Linked DNA regions of Homo sapiens: region 1 is linked to region 2. Evidence: promoter capture Hi-C in 16 types of primary human blood cells and fetal thymus (Javierre and others, 2016). All regions are on one chromosome and are shown on one strand. The core of a region is centred on a gene start or on the middle of the fragment in contact, and the rest is flanking DNA. Distances in the headings are between cores, read along the strand shown. Region 1 overlaps DPYSL5 (dihydropyrimidinase like 5). Region 2 holds the start of DPYSL5 (dihydropyrimidinase like 5).

Region 1 (6,270 bases), core at 2,689-5,188, 61 kb after region 2:
TGTCTCAAAACAAAAACAAAAACAGGAGTTTGAGGTTGCATGAGTAGCCCACATCCCAGGGCCAGTTGGACCAGAAGGCAGGTTTCTCAGCCTTTCACCACCCTGTTCAAGGCCTCCTGAGACCTCGGGACTGAACAATCACCCCTTTCAGCCTGTGGCCTCTTGGTTGGCTGTATGCAAATATTTCTCTTGCTATTCTGTGGCCCCAAATTTTGCTGGACCAGATGAGGGTGTCTCAGAATGGATTTGCATCAGGCAGGCAGCTGAGCGAGGTCTCTGCCTGCCCAAGACAGTAGCTTTATGAAATGCTGCTCCTCCCTGCAGGAATAACTGATGTCAGCGCCTTAGAGCTAAACAGTTTTTACTATGTATAAATGGTGTTTGTAAGGATTAGATGAGATGATGCATGACAAATGCTTCACATAGTCCCTGTCACAGAATACATATACAATAAATGCTAGTCCCCAGGCTGGGACTACCTGCTTCCACCCCAGGCTCTTTTCTTCCAGTTCCTTGAGAAAAGATCCACCGACTTTGGCTTCACAATGAAATTGCTCCACTGTGCACCGAGTGCCCATGCTACCTGTGTCCCTGGGCTTGGCCAGCAGGCACCCTGGCAGGCCTTCTCTGGGAATCGGCCCTCACCTCCCAGCTCGTTTTCCATGCTCGTTCTTCCTGCTGCCCTACCACCCCTCCGGCCTAGCTGTGGGGGCTGGGATTGGCATAGCTGGGCTCCTCTCTCCACTTTCTTCTGTGACTCACCTGTAGGCTGTAAAGAGCCCTGTGAAGGCTTCATGAAGTGACTTCCCCTCCCCTGCCACCTGGAGGACATCCCTCTACCCCCTCCATCGGTACTTAGTCTGCTTGTAGAGGGTATATTAGTTTTCTGCTGTGTAACTAATTGCCTCAAGTTCAGCAATTTAAAACACCCATTTATTAACTCACAGTTCTGTAGGTAGAAATCTGGGCACAGCATGACTAGGTCTTCGGCTCAGAGCCTCGCAAGCCGCCATCCAGGTGTCAATGGGCTGCATTCTCATCTGGAGTCCAGGGTTCTCTGCCAAGCTCGTGTAGTTGTGGCAGAATTCCATTTCTTGGAGTTCAAGGACTGAGGTCCCTGTTTCCTTGTTGGCTGTCAGCCTGGGGCGGATCTCAGTGCCTGGAGGCTGCCAGCACCCTTTGCCACCTGCCCCTTCCATCTTCAAAGCCAGCAACAGACTCACCTCAAGTCTCTCTCCTGTTTCAAATCTCTGACTAGAATCTCTTTCACCAAGAAAAAAACCCATATCTTTTTTTTTTTTTTTTGAGACAGAGTCTTGCTCTGTCACCAGGCTGGACTGCAGTGGCACGATCTCAGCTCACTGCAACCTCCACTTCCCAGGTTCAAGAGATTCTCCTGCCTCAGCCTCCTGAGTAGCTGGGAGTACAGGCGCCTGCCACCACGCCCAGCTAATTTTTGTATTCTTAGTAGAGATGAGGTTTCACCATGTTGGCCAGGATGGTCTCTATCTCTTGACCTCGTGATCTGCCTGCCTCGGCCTCCAAAAGGGCTGGGATTACAGGCGTTAGCCACCGTGCCTGGCCAACCCATACCTTTATGAGCTCACCTGATTAGCCCAGACCCACTGAGGATAATCTCCTGCCATGGAATATAACCTAATCATGGGTACGTTTTCCCATCTTATTCACAAGATCCCTCCCACACTCAGTGAGATGCAGTTATACAGGGGTGTGGGCCACTGGGAGTCATCTTAGAATTCTGCCTACCACAGGGAGTCACATGCAAAAACATGGCTATCCTATAGACATTTTGCCCTAGTACATCTCCACTCCACCTATTTTGCTTAAACTACCTAAATCATAATTTATTTATTTATTTTAGAGATAGAATCTGGCCCTGTCACCCAGGCTGGAGCGTAGTGGCATGATCATAGCTCACTGTGGCGTCAACCACCTGGGCTCAAGCCATACTCCCACCTCAGCCTCCTGAGTAGCTGGGACTGCAGGCACATGCCACTGTGCCCAGCTAAGTTTTTTATTTTTATTTTTTGTAGAGACCGGATCTTGCTATGTTGCCCAGGCTGGTCTTGAATTCTTGGCTTCAAGCGATCCTCCTGCCTCAGCCTCCCAAAGTGTTAGGATTACAGGCGTCAGCCATCATGCTCAGCTTACTTAAACCTTTTTAAAACTCCACATTTACATTTTTATTTATTTATTTATTTATTTTATTTTTTTGAGATGGAGTCTTGCTCTGTCACCCAGGCTGGAGTGCAGTGGTGCAATCTTGGCTCACTGCAACCTCCGCCTCCTGGGTTCAAGCAATTCCCCTGTCTCAGCCTCCCAAGTAACTGGGAATACAGGCGCCCGCCACCATGCCCAGCTAATTTTGTATTTTTAGTAGAGACGGAGTTTCTCCATGTTGGTCAGGCTAGTCTCGAACTCCTGACCTCAAGTGATCCATAAGCCTCAGCCTCCCAAAGTGCTGGGATTACAGGCATGAGCTACTGCGCCCAGCCCACATTTACATTTTTAAAATAAAAAATCACCTTGGCCCCCCTTCATCTCACGGCTCTCTCTATGCCTGATGTCGTGTCCCTGCAATGGCTCCCTGTTGTCTAAGACATCAAGTTTGGATGTATGGATCTTCCCCCTGGGCAACCCCTGATCTGACCTTGCCCTCCCATCGACCCATCATGGCCAGCTGCTCCCCACACGCACCCATCCATCAGGAAGATGCCCTCCATGGACACCCCATGCTGCCTGTTGCCATCTCTCTCCACCCCTGCACAGAGCCCCTCCTTCAAGGCGAACAGCCTCTCGTGGCACTCCTCCTCCAGCTAACCCAGCTCCAGGATGTCACTTTCTTCTCGCCAGCTGAAATAACTTGTCATCCTAGGGCTTTCAAATTGTTTCCCATGTTAAGTTTGTTTCTCAACAAGATTGAAGACCCTTTGAGGAGCAGAGACCACGATTTAACTTGTGACTAGCCACAGAGCCCGCGTAGCCCTAACGGTGTAGTCGACATCCAAGAAATGGATGTCAGCATGGAGTGGGAGTTATCAGCACAGACTGGGGCTATGAATGCTGGAGTTCGGATTTCAGCTCCACATTTGCTTGCTATGTCATGTGGGCAAGTTAATCTCTCTGTTCCTCCATTGTCGTATGTCTTTAAAAGTGCTAATTGAGTTATTATTTGTAAAGAACTTAAAAGAATACTTGGTGCTTATTAAGCATTATGTGAATGTTTGTTAAATAAATAAATAGATCATGTTGATCAAAGTCAGATCCCTTAAAAATCCATTTGTACGAGCATACATATAAAACAGTTAAGCATCAAATAGGAACTGAAAGAACTGGATTTCATTCCTAGCGTTCGAATTTCTGTGTGTGTTTTAGATTTCAAACAGAGTCTGATAGTAATAGTGATAAATTCTAGATAATTTTCTGTCTTCTCTCTTTCTCTTAAAGGCAGAAATAGCCAGCAATAAACTCTGCAGGCATCAGGAGCTATTTAAAGGTGTCCTGCTTCAAACCAGCTACTTGCTTAACAAAACCTTGCTGGCAACTTTCATTCTACGTGTACATTAATTGGTAGGCCAAAATGTAGGCCAGGTTGATCCTTCTTAGAACTGATGTGAATGAGGAGATCTATCGTTTCTTATAAATTTGTATCTCTGGTATTGGGAAAAAACCTCCTATGGTGACCAAGCAGCTCCTCAACTTCTAGAATAGTGTTTGCAAAGAATTTATCAATGCAGATTATTGCATTTTTAAAACCTTTGATTCAGAATAAAATAAATACACCCTCTGTGATTGAGGCCAAGTGTCTTGGCAATCTTTCGTGCTTAGTACAAGAAGCTTTGCTTTATGCTGTCATCCACTGGAATTTATAAAAGGAAAAAAGGAAGAAGAAAAATATATACTGTATGTGCACTTCAATGATACATATTGCACATGAATGCCATTTTTCTGTCTTCTTCCATTTTTCTCCCTTCTTCCTCTTTTTCTTTTCTTAAATTAAGCTTGTATCTTTTTTAATATTTCAAGAAATATTTGAATATGGCCTTTTCTCAATTGGAAATATCTGTTCTCCCAAACCTCACAGAGGTTACCTTTGAAGTTGCCATATTTGTGTTGAAAATAAGGGACATATCTTGGTTCATTTACAGGTAGAAATTTGCGTAGGTGCCAGATCATCTCCCCTGGATAGTTTCAGCCTCATTGTTCCCTTGGGTGATTACTGCAGCCAGCCACATTTTTCTCTCCTTCTGATGCTTTTTTGTTTCTTGTTGACTAAAACTGAAGCCCTATAAGGATCTTTAATTAGTAACTAAACGAATATAAAACTGTGGGCCAACTACTGTAAGAACGTTCTCACTGACCATTGTTTCTCACTCATATTGCACACACATCACACACACCATCTCACATTCACACTCGCTCTCACACACACAATTTTAGAGCTGGAAGTACCATTAGAGATTAATAAATACTACCCCTAATTCATAAATAATTTTCCTGTTTAGACTTAAACGATCCACAGTATTCTCAATTAATATTTTAAAATAAAATTAAACAAGGCGGGGCTCAGTGGCTCGGTGGCTCACGCCTGTAATCCCAAAGCTTTGGGAGGCCAAGGCAAGAGGATCACTTGAGGCCAGGAGTTTAAGACCAGCCTAGGCAACATAGTGAAACCCCATCTCTACAAAAAATACAAAAATTAGCCAAGCATGATGGTGTGTACCTATAGACCTAGCTACTAGGGAGGCTGAGGCAGGAGGAGTTTGAGCTCACTTGAGCTCAGAAGTTTGAGGCTGCAGTGAGCTATGATCATGCCACTGCACTCCAGTGACAGAACAAGACCCTGTCTAAAAACAAAAAAAAAATTGGTAAATGTTAGTGAACTCCACTGTTGGGAAGAATATGTCTAGAAAGAGGAGAACATGATTAGGTAACCTGGGAAGCCACCTTTAAAAAAAAAAGGTATAATTAATGTTTGATAAGCTGCACATTTTAAAGTATACAGTTTGATACATTTTGACATATACATACATCAAGAAGCCATCACAATATAATAAACATATCCACCATTCCTGAAAGTTTCTTTGTGTTCCTGTAATTTTCCCCCAGCTCTCACCCCAGGTTACCACTATTTTATGTCACTATAGATTAGTTTGCATTTTCTACTATTTCTATATAAATGGAGCAATGCGATATGCATTCCTTTTTTTGTCTGGTTTCTTTCGCTCAGTAGTATTAAGTTTTTGGCTGTTAAAGATAAAGCTACTGTGAACATTCATATACATATATTTGTGTGGACATAGGCTTTTATTTCCCTTGGGTAATTACCCGGAAGTGGAATGTGTCTGTTTTATGGTAGGTCTACATTTAGCTTTTTAAGAAATTGCCACCTGGTTTCCAAAGTGGTTGTAACAATTTTTTTTTCCCCATCAGTAGTGACTCCATATCATTCCCACCACTTGTTGTGGTCAGTCTTTTTAATTTTAGCCGTTCTAATAGGTGTGTAGTGGTATCTCAGTGTGGTTACAATGTGCATTTCCTTAGTGACTAGTGTTGAATGTCTTTACATGTGCCTATATGCCTTCTATATGTTTTCAGTGAAGTGTCTGCTCACACCTTTTACCCATGTTTTAGTAAGTTGTTGGCTTTTAAAAATCTGAATATAAGAGTTGTTTTCTTTTTTTCTTTCTTCTTCTTCTTTTTTTTTTTTTTTTTTTAGTAGAGACAGGGTTTCACCAGTTGGCCAGGCTGGTCCTGAATGATTGACCTCAGTTGATCTGCCCGCCCCAGCCTCCCAAAGTGCTGGGATTACAGGTGTGAGCCACCACACCCAGCCCAAAAGTTGTTTATATAGTCTAATTACAAGCCATTTATTAGATATATGTTTTGCAAATTTTTCTCCCAGTCTGTTACTTACTTTTTCATTTTCTTAAGTGTTTTTTGAAGAGCAGTAGTTTTTAATTTTGAAGTCCAATTTATCGATTTTTTTATTTCTACTTCATGCTTTTTGTGCTATAATCAAGAAATTTTTTCAGAATCCAAGGTCTCTAAGATTTTCCCCTATGTTTTCTTTTAGAAGTTTGTAATTTTAGCTTTTACAGTTCAGTCTATGATCTGTTTTAAGTTAATTTTTATACATGGTATGTGGTATCTATGTTCAGTTTTTTTTTTTTTTTTTTTGCAAATGGCTATCCAATTGTTCCAGAGCCATTTGTTGAAAAGATTATCCCTTGTCAAAAATCAATTGAC
Region 2 (6,389 bases), core at 567-3,066:
CCCGGTTTGGGTGCAACCTTTATCAATATCCTAAACTGACAGATGACGTAGAGGCAGCCGTTTCGCTGACTAGGGAAGGTAGCCCAAGAAAGCTAAGATGCTAGAATCCAAATTTAAGGTCTACGAGACGCTGCAGAAAACATTTACAGTCACTAGAGGGCTCTCTCTCCCTTAAGCAAAAAGCGCAGCACCGCCCGCGCGCGGTAGTCTCGGAACCCCGCCGCCGGGAGGCCGCTGGCAGCTCCACGCCACCTCCCTGAAGCCCAGTCCATTTTGCCTACATCCCTGTCCGGGCAAGCCCTGGAGAATCCATAGGGCAGTGCCCCAAGCTGGAGCAGTTTTCACAGCCACATCCCGGGCTGCACTGGGTTAGGGATGCTTTGAGGTTCCTCTGGGGGCTCCCTGCTCTCTGCTTACCAAGCAGGCGGGAGTTGGGAAGGGGAGAAGGAGTGCAGACTCAGGGGTGGGGTAATCCAGAAATGCATCCCTCAAAGGCCAGCCTGGCCTGGTCCAGGCCCTAAGCTCTCTGGGGAAGGACGGCAGGGAACCCCGCCTTGGCGGGCTCTGCGGGTCCTGCGCCCGGGTAGATTTTGCTGAGATGGGGAGAGGGGACCCCCTCCACGCCCCCGGAGTAGTGAACACCATTTTGTTTGAAAGTATCCTGCAAAGAGAACCACCTCACGAGGCCATGGCTGCCAGGGGACTCCTCTCCCCACCGGATCGCCGGGGAGCCCGGGGAGGGAGGGATTCTGCAGCTGCAGCTTGGAGGTCCTTGATGCTGCATTTTAACGCGCATCGCAACGCCTTTGGAGTGACATTAAGTGCAAAGAGGCAAATGACTAATCCAAACTATTATTACAACTGCAGAAAATAACACAGATCAATGGCAAAGGCTTGAACCGGGATTAGCTAGGGAGGTGGGACAAACCGGGGATGATCCTTCCTCTCCTTTTTTAGATTTGTTTATTTTGGTAAATTATGTATGTATTTAAACATGAAGAAACAGGTGAAGCGAATGTAAATTGGGTTATAAATAATTTCCAAAGGCTTCGCTGTCCCTTGACAGAAGCCAGAAATAAGACAGGCACTGGGCCTGAGCGCTCTGGACAGGGAAGCACCCGCGTGGCGCTGGGCAAAATCTTCTCAGTGGAGAGAACGCACTCCGGGTTCGAGACCTCCCCGGGTGCAGATGCGAACTGCGGTGGCCCCAAGTGGCCGTCCACTTTGTTCATGAGAACAGTTTTCCTATAACGCCCACCCGGCCCTTTGCATCCCGCAATCCCGCGGGCGTCGGAGCGGGTCTTGGCGCGAACCAGGCGGCCTCGGCGGGGTCCTGCGGCGGAGGGCAGCGCGGCCGCAGCCCGGGAGAGGCGGCCGCGGCATTGTTTCAGCCCCTGGGGTGGGATCCAGCTGGGGGAGGGGAGGCGGGGTGTCCTCCGGAACCGCCCCCGGCCCTCCCTGGGGACCCGTGCCTCAGCGCGTCCAGGCTTTGTGGTGTCCTGAGTCGCCATGGAAACCCGAGGGAACGCGGAGCCGGGTGCTAGGGGGGTCGGTGAGTTCTCCGGCCGCGCCCTCCGTCCGCTCTCGGACCCCGGCCCTGCAGCAGGGCCTGCCGGGAGTTGTAGTCCCCAGGCGGCGGCGGCGCGCGGCGCCAAGGATGCGGGACGCCGCCTGTCCCCGCCTCCCCTTAACCTGCTAGCTGAGGTGGGGAGCGGCGGGAGGAGCCGGCCGCGCGGTGATTGGCGGAGGCCGCTCCCAGCCCCCGACACGCGCCCCTCCCCCGCTCCCCACTCTGGACTCCCGCGCTGGGCGCGCTGAGGCGGCCCCCGAGCGAGCGCGCGTGCAGCCGCCGCCGCCCCGAGCACCCGCAGCTCCGGCGCCGCGGCGAGACGGAGACGGACCGAGCCACGGGCCCCCGCGGCCGCAGCATCTCGGAGGAGTGGGTGATGGCAGGGGGGTCGGTGGGCTTACCCCTCCCGGGCTAGGACATCCTCCTCTCCCCCTTCTGTTTCTGCGTGAGGCGCACAAAAGGGCGGGGAGCCGGGTGAGCCTGGGGCCCGGCCGCAGGGGACGCGGCGGGAGGTGTGGTTTGGGGTTGGGAGGTGGCCATCGGGGCTAAGCCGGGGCGCTCTTGGGGTCCTCTTTGTACGCCCGCGAAGCGCCGTGCCGGGCCTTGCTCATAGTAAGCGTTTAATGCGTGCTCGCGGGGTTGCAAAGCCCTGGGGTGAGGAGGCGGCTCGGCCGAGGGGTTTCGCGCCTAGCACGCAGTGGGCCGCTTTCCTAGCCGGGCGCGGTGCAGTGGACCGCTGGAGGGCTGGGCGGGGGCGCCTCTGGCCGGGGGCCAGTCCTGCCGGTCCCAGGATCTGCGCTGTCCCCGGTCCCACACACCACCCAGATACACACCCTCCGTCCTTCTCGCCTCCGAGCTGGGATCTGCCCAGCCTGGACCCGACCCGGCGGTCTGTTCCACCGCCCGGCTAACGGAGCGGACGCCTGCAGAGGACTCGCCCGCCGCCTCCGAGCCTCCCGCCTGAGCCACAAAGGCCTCCTGCGGCTGCCCAGCCCGGAGCGGGCGCCGAGCCGGGTCCCTCGGCTGGAGCCCAGCGCGGGAGCCCGCCTTGCAGCATCGATCTCAGCGGGCACCGACGTCGACGCCCCGGGCCTGGGGACGGGGCTGTAGTCTGAGCTGGAGAGAAGCCGGGAGAGGGCGAGGGGAGGCCTCGGTTGAGAAAAGATGGGGATGGGGAAGGCTGGGGAGCTGGGTTAGGACAGGTAGTGGGTCTCGGGGAGCAGGGAGTGGGAACTAGGGTTTGAGGAGGAAAGAGAAGGGGCGGGGGCGGGTCCGAAGAACGAGGGAAGGAGCTCGGTGCAGGTGGCGCCCGGCGAGGCTGGTTCTGCTGAAGAATGGGGAGGGGAGGAGGGATGCAGGCGGGTGGAGGCCGCCTGGGTTTGAGGAGGGAGGACGGGAGCGAGGAGAAGACCCGCGCTGTGCGGGGGAGGGGGGCCTCCTGGGAAGGGGAGCCTCCCGAGGAGGGAGGGGCAAGCAGCTGAGAGGCGGTCTCGGGCCCGAGGATCCTCAGCTCCAGGCGCGGGGCCCCGCGGCCCAGGTGGCCGGCTGGGCGTGGCCCTCGGACCGGGGTTAGGGACCCAGGATGGCAGATCCGGGACCGGGCTGGGCTGGCTTGGTGAGGAGCTTTGTCTCCAGGCTTGAAACCAGCCGGTAGCGACTCGCTTAGGGTTTTGTGATCTTCCGCGGCGCCCACGGCACGCCCTTTTCTCGAGGAGCTGAAAGGCTTTGCCCAGCAGCAGGTGCTGCCAGGGAGGCGGATCTCCCTTCGGGGAGACCCGGAGAACAATAGCCGACCCTGGTGTCCATCCGACGACAAACCAGGGCCACCCAGGACGCGAGGGTGCAGTTTTCTGGTGCTGGGAATACTCCCTGCGGAACCTCCGGGCACGTGCTGGCTTTGGGGTTTTATGGGGGCCTGGCCACGCCGGGAATCCCGTGTGGGAGGCGCTCCCCCGGCCTGGGGGCCTGCAGACAGCCACCCCCCCACTCCGGCTCGGGTGCCTTCTGGTGCAGCGCCGCCGCCCGCCCCGCGCTGTCCACCCGCTGCCGAGACGCGGCGTGGTTAGCGGCGCGGAGCTGCCGGGCGGCGACGCAGGTGCCAAAGACTGGAGGTCGCCTCGGTGCAGCGCGGGTTCCCCCGAGCAGCGGCTTTGTCTGCCGAGGCGGCCGTAGTCTAGGGGCTGCAGCTGTGCTTTCTCAGGGGGAGCCGTAAGGGCTGGTGCGGATTGTGGTCAAATTGCGGAGAAGCGGGTGGAAATGATCCCGCAAGGGTGAGGCTCTAGGTTTGGGAGCCGCTGCTAGGGGTCCAGTGCTTTTCTTTGCCAGTGACCACACCCAAGCCAGTGCGTCTCTTGCAGACTTCGCCCATATTGTCTGCTGACCTAAGACTGGGGTAGCTCTGTGATAGGCGCTGCTTGCCCGTGGGAAAGCAGATGAACCGAATGGAAGCTTAAAACAGGCTTTCAGCAGGGCTTTCCACGCACTCAGCCTCTCGCCCGCCGTCTAAACACCTTGCAAGTCACCGCTGCAGCGCCTTGACATGTGAAGTGACACCCAAAGCCAGAATTCTGTGTTGCACTGTTGCTTTGATAACTGGTTAGATGACAAGTTAAAGGTGAATCTTTAGCATAAAGTTATCATTTTAAATTGCCATTCATTAAAAAAAAAGGCAGGAATGTTTTTGTTCCCAGACTGGGCGATACTTGGCATTGTAGAACTCATTGATGCCACTTACATTTGCCACTAAGTTAACTGAGAACCTGTTGGTTCTCTTAACCCAGCCTTGAAATCTCAGGATTTGCTTTCTTAACAAGATTAGTGTGTAAGGTGAAGGACTGTGCTGTGGCTGTTGGCTTTTGCCCAGGACAGATGATAGCTGTCAAAGTGAAGGCCTCTTGTCTGAGTGTCCTTTCTGGCCATAGGGAGTCAGCAGTAGGCTATGTCTTGCTGGTTTTAAAGGATGGTGTTTTGAGGAGGTGCCTCACAGAATTTACAAAACTGATCTGGAAGGACTAGCTGGAACATTGCTCATTGGTTGTTTTTAACTATATTTTAACTGAATTATATATATGTATATATTAATATGTATATACACACATATATATATACACATACTATATTTTACTAAATTATATATGCATGTGTGTATTTATGCATACACACAAACATGGATTCAGAGTACATAAATACTAGGAATCTCAATATTAGAAACCTAGAAATCTGACAGTGAAGGTTTTTTCTTGTAAGAGAGCTCCAATGGGAAACATGTTTTCATATTATTACCCAAAGGGAACAATTTCAGGAAGGAGTGTTTTGTTGGCTTCTTTTTTGTAATAATTTTATGGATTTTTAAAAGGATGTAATCTTCTTAAAGCACTCTGTGAACATCCATTGCAGTCTGTTCCTCATGGCAGGGAATCCATAGACAAGGAATGCCGGTATGACCAGCCTGACGTGAAGGCCTGGCTGTTGTCAGCGTAACCTCTCTAGGTGCAAACATTAGCAGGGTTGTTGCATTATTCTTAATGCTTCTATCTCTGGAAAGAGTTCCACAGCAAGGCAAGTTTACACAGTTGGCCAAAATCAGGTCTCAGGACTTGGCGTAAACTTCATTTGTGGCACTTCCACGTCTCTTCTCCTGCCATAGCTATCTGAGAATTTCCCCTTAATAGCTTCTCTGACCCAGGATTCTGTATGATCCTGCATTAGCTCCACGGGACTATAAGCCAAAGGACAGCATGACTATAGGCAGGTCTCTGGGGTAAAAGTAAATTGTGGCCAGGCACAGTGGATCACGCCTGTAATCCCAACACTTTGGGAGGCTGAGACAGGAGGATCACTTGAGGTCAGGAGTTCGAGACCAGCCTGGCCAACATGGTGAAACTCCATCTCTACTAAAAATACAAAAAAATTAGCCTGACGTGGTGGCGCACACCTGTAGTCCCAGCTACTTGGGAGGAGGCTGAGGTGGAGAATCACTTGAACCTGGGAGGCCGAGGTTGCAGTGAGCTGAGATCGTGCCACTGCACTCCAGCCTGGGCAACAGAGTGAGACTCTATCTCAAAAAAAAAAATGTGAATTGTGTGTTCAGATCATTTTCTTGGGGCATAGAAAAATATTGAGAGCCAGAGAAGTTGGACAAGAGTATCTGAGACCCAGTCTATCTTCCTGGTGTGAAAATTTACCAGTTTCTGATAGAATCTGATCTTGTGTATCTTTTTTGTTTTCTGAGGTATAAAAACATATTCCAGAAAAGTCTTCTAAGACTTAATTCACAGGAATCCTGTAGAACAAGATATCTTTGTCAACATGAAGTCCTGTAGGGAAAACTTGGTGTAATATGGGAGCAAATAAGAATAAATGTGTTTTATCATTTTTCCAATAAGCAGGTGTTTGATTTCATTGCACTGCTGGTGCATAAATGAGAAATAATTTCAAAATCGCTTTGCCTTGCTTTTTTTTATGTGAAGATGAAAGGTTGAAATACCATAACATGAATCTTTTGTGAGCTTTGGTATTTATGTATAAAAGTGGGCACAAATTATACACTTGAACAAAAGAAATTCAGGGAGGAACATGGTGTATGATTTGTTCTACTTCAGTCTTTGAAACTTGTTTCATTTAAAATAAGCTGATTTAACCATTGATTGAACCCGAGCTTGCCAAGCACTCCCATCAATCACAGCCCTGTTCTGTACTTGTTCCCTCGCCTCCCTCCTCCCTCGTCACAATCCAGGCTCAGCGGTAGCGTGTACAGGAGGGAGAGCCAGAAAGCCTGGGTTCAGATTTCACCTTGGCCACTTTCTGTTTATCTGTGCAA

Evidence for each region. The method cuts DNA at HindIII sites, captures the fragments that hold promoters and counts their contacts. A CHiCAGO score of 5 or more calls a contact.
Region 1: a contact is called between a fragment that was not itself captured here and the fragment with the promoter of DPYSL5 in region 2, in 4 of 17 cell types (megakaryocytes, M1 macrophages, M0 macrophages and 1 more). The highest score is 8.0, in megakaryocytes.

The regions. Positions count from the first base shown.
Region 1 is chr2:26,904,898-26,911,167 of GRCh38, forward strand. All of the region lies in intron 2 of DPYSL5 (dihydropyrimidinase like 5), which reads left to right. Among named protein-coding and RNA genes, the nearest start is that of DPYSL5, 60 kb to the left of the region's middle. The HindIII fragment of the contact is 164 bases long and covers 3,857-4,020 here.
Region 2 is chr2:26,846,316-26,852,704 of GRCh38, forward strand. DPYSL5 (dihydropyrimidinase like 5) reads left to right here and starts at 1,817. Exons shown (of 13, transcript NM_020134.4): 1 at 1,817-1,939. The HindIII fragment of the contact is 4,603 bases long and covers 1-4,016 here.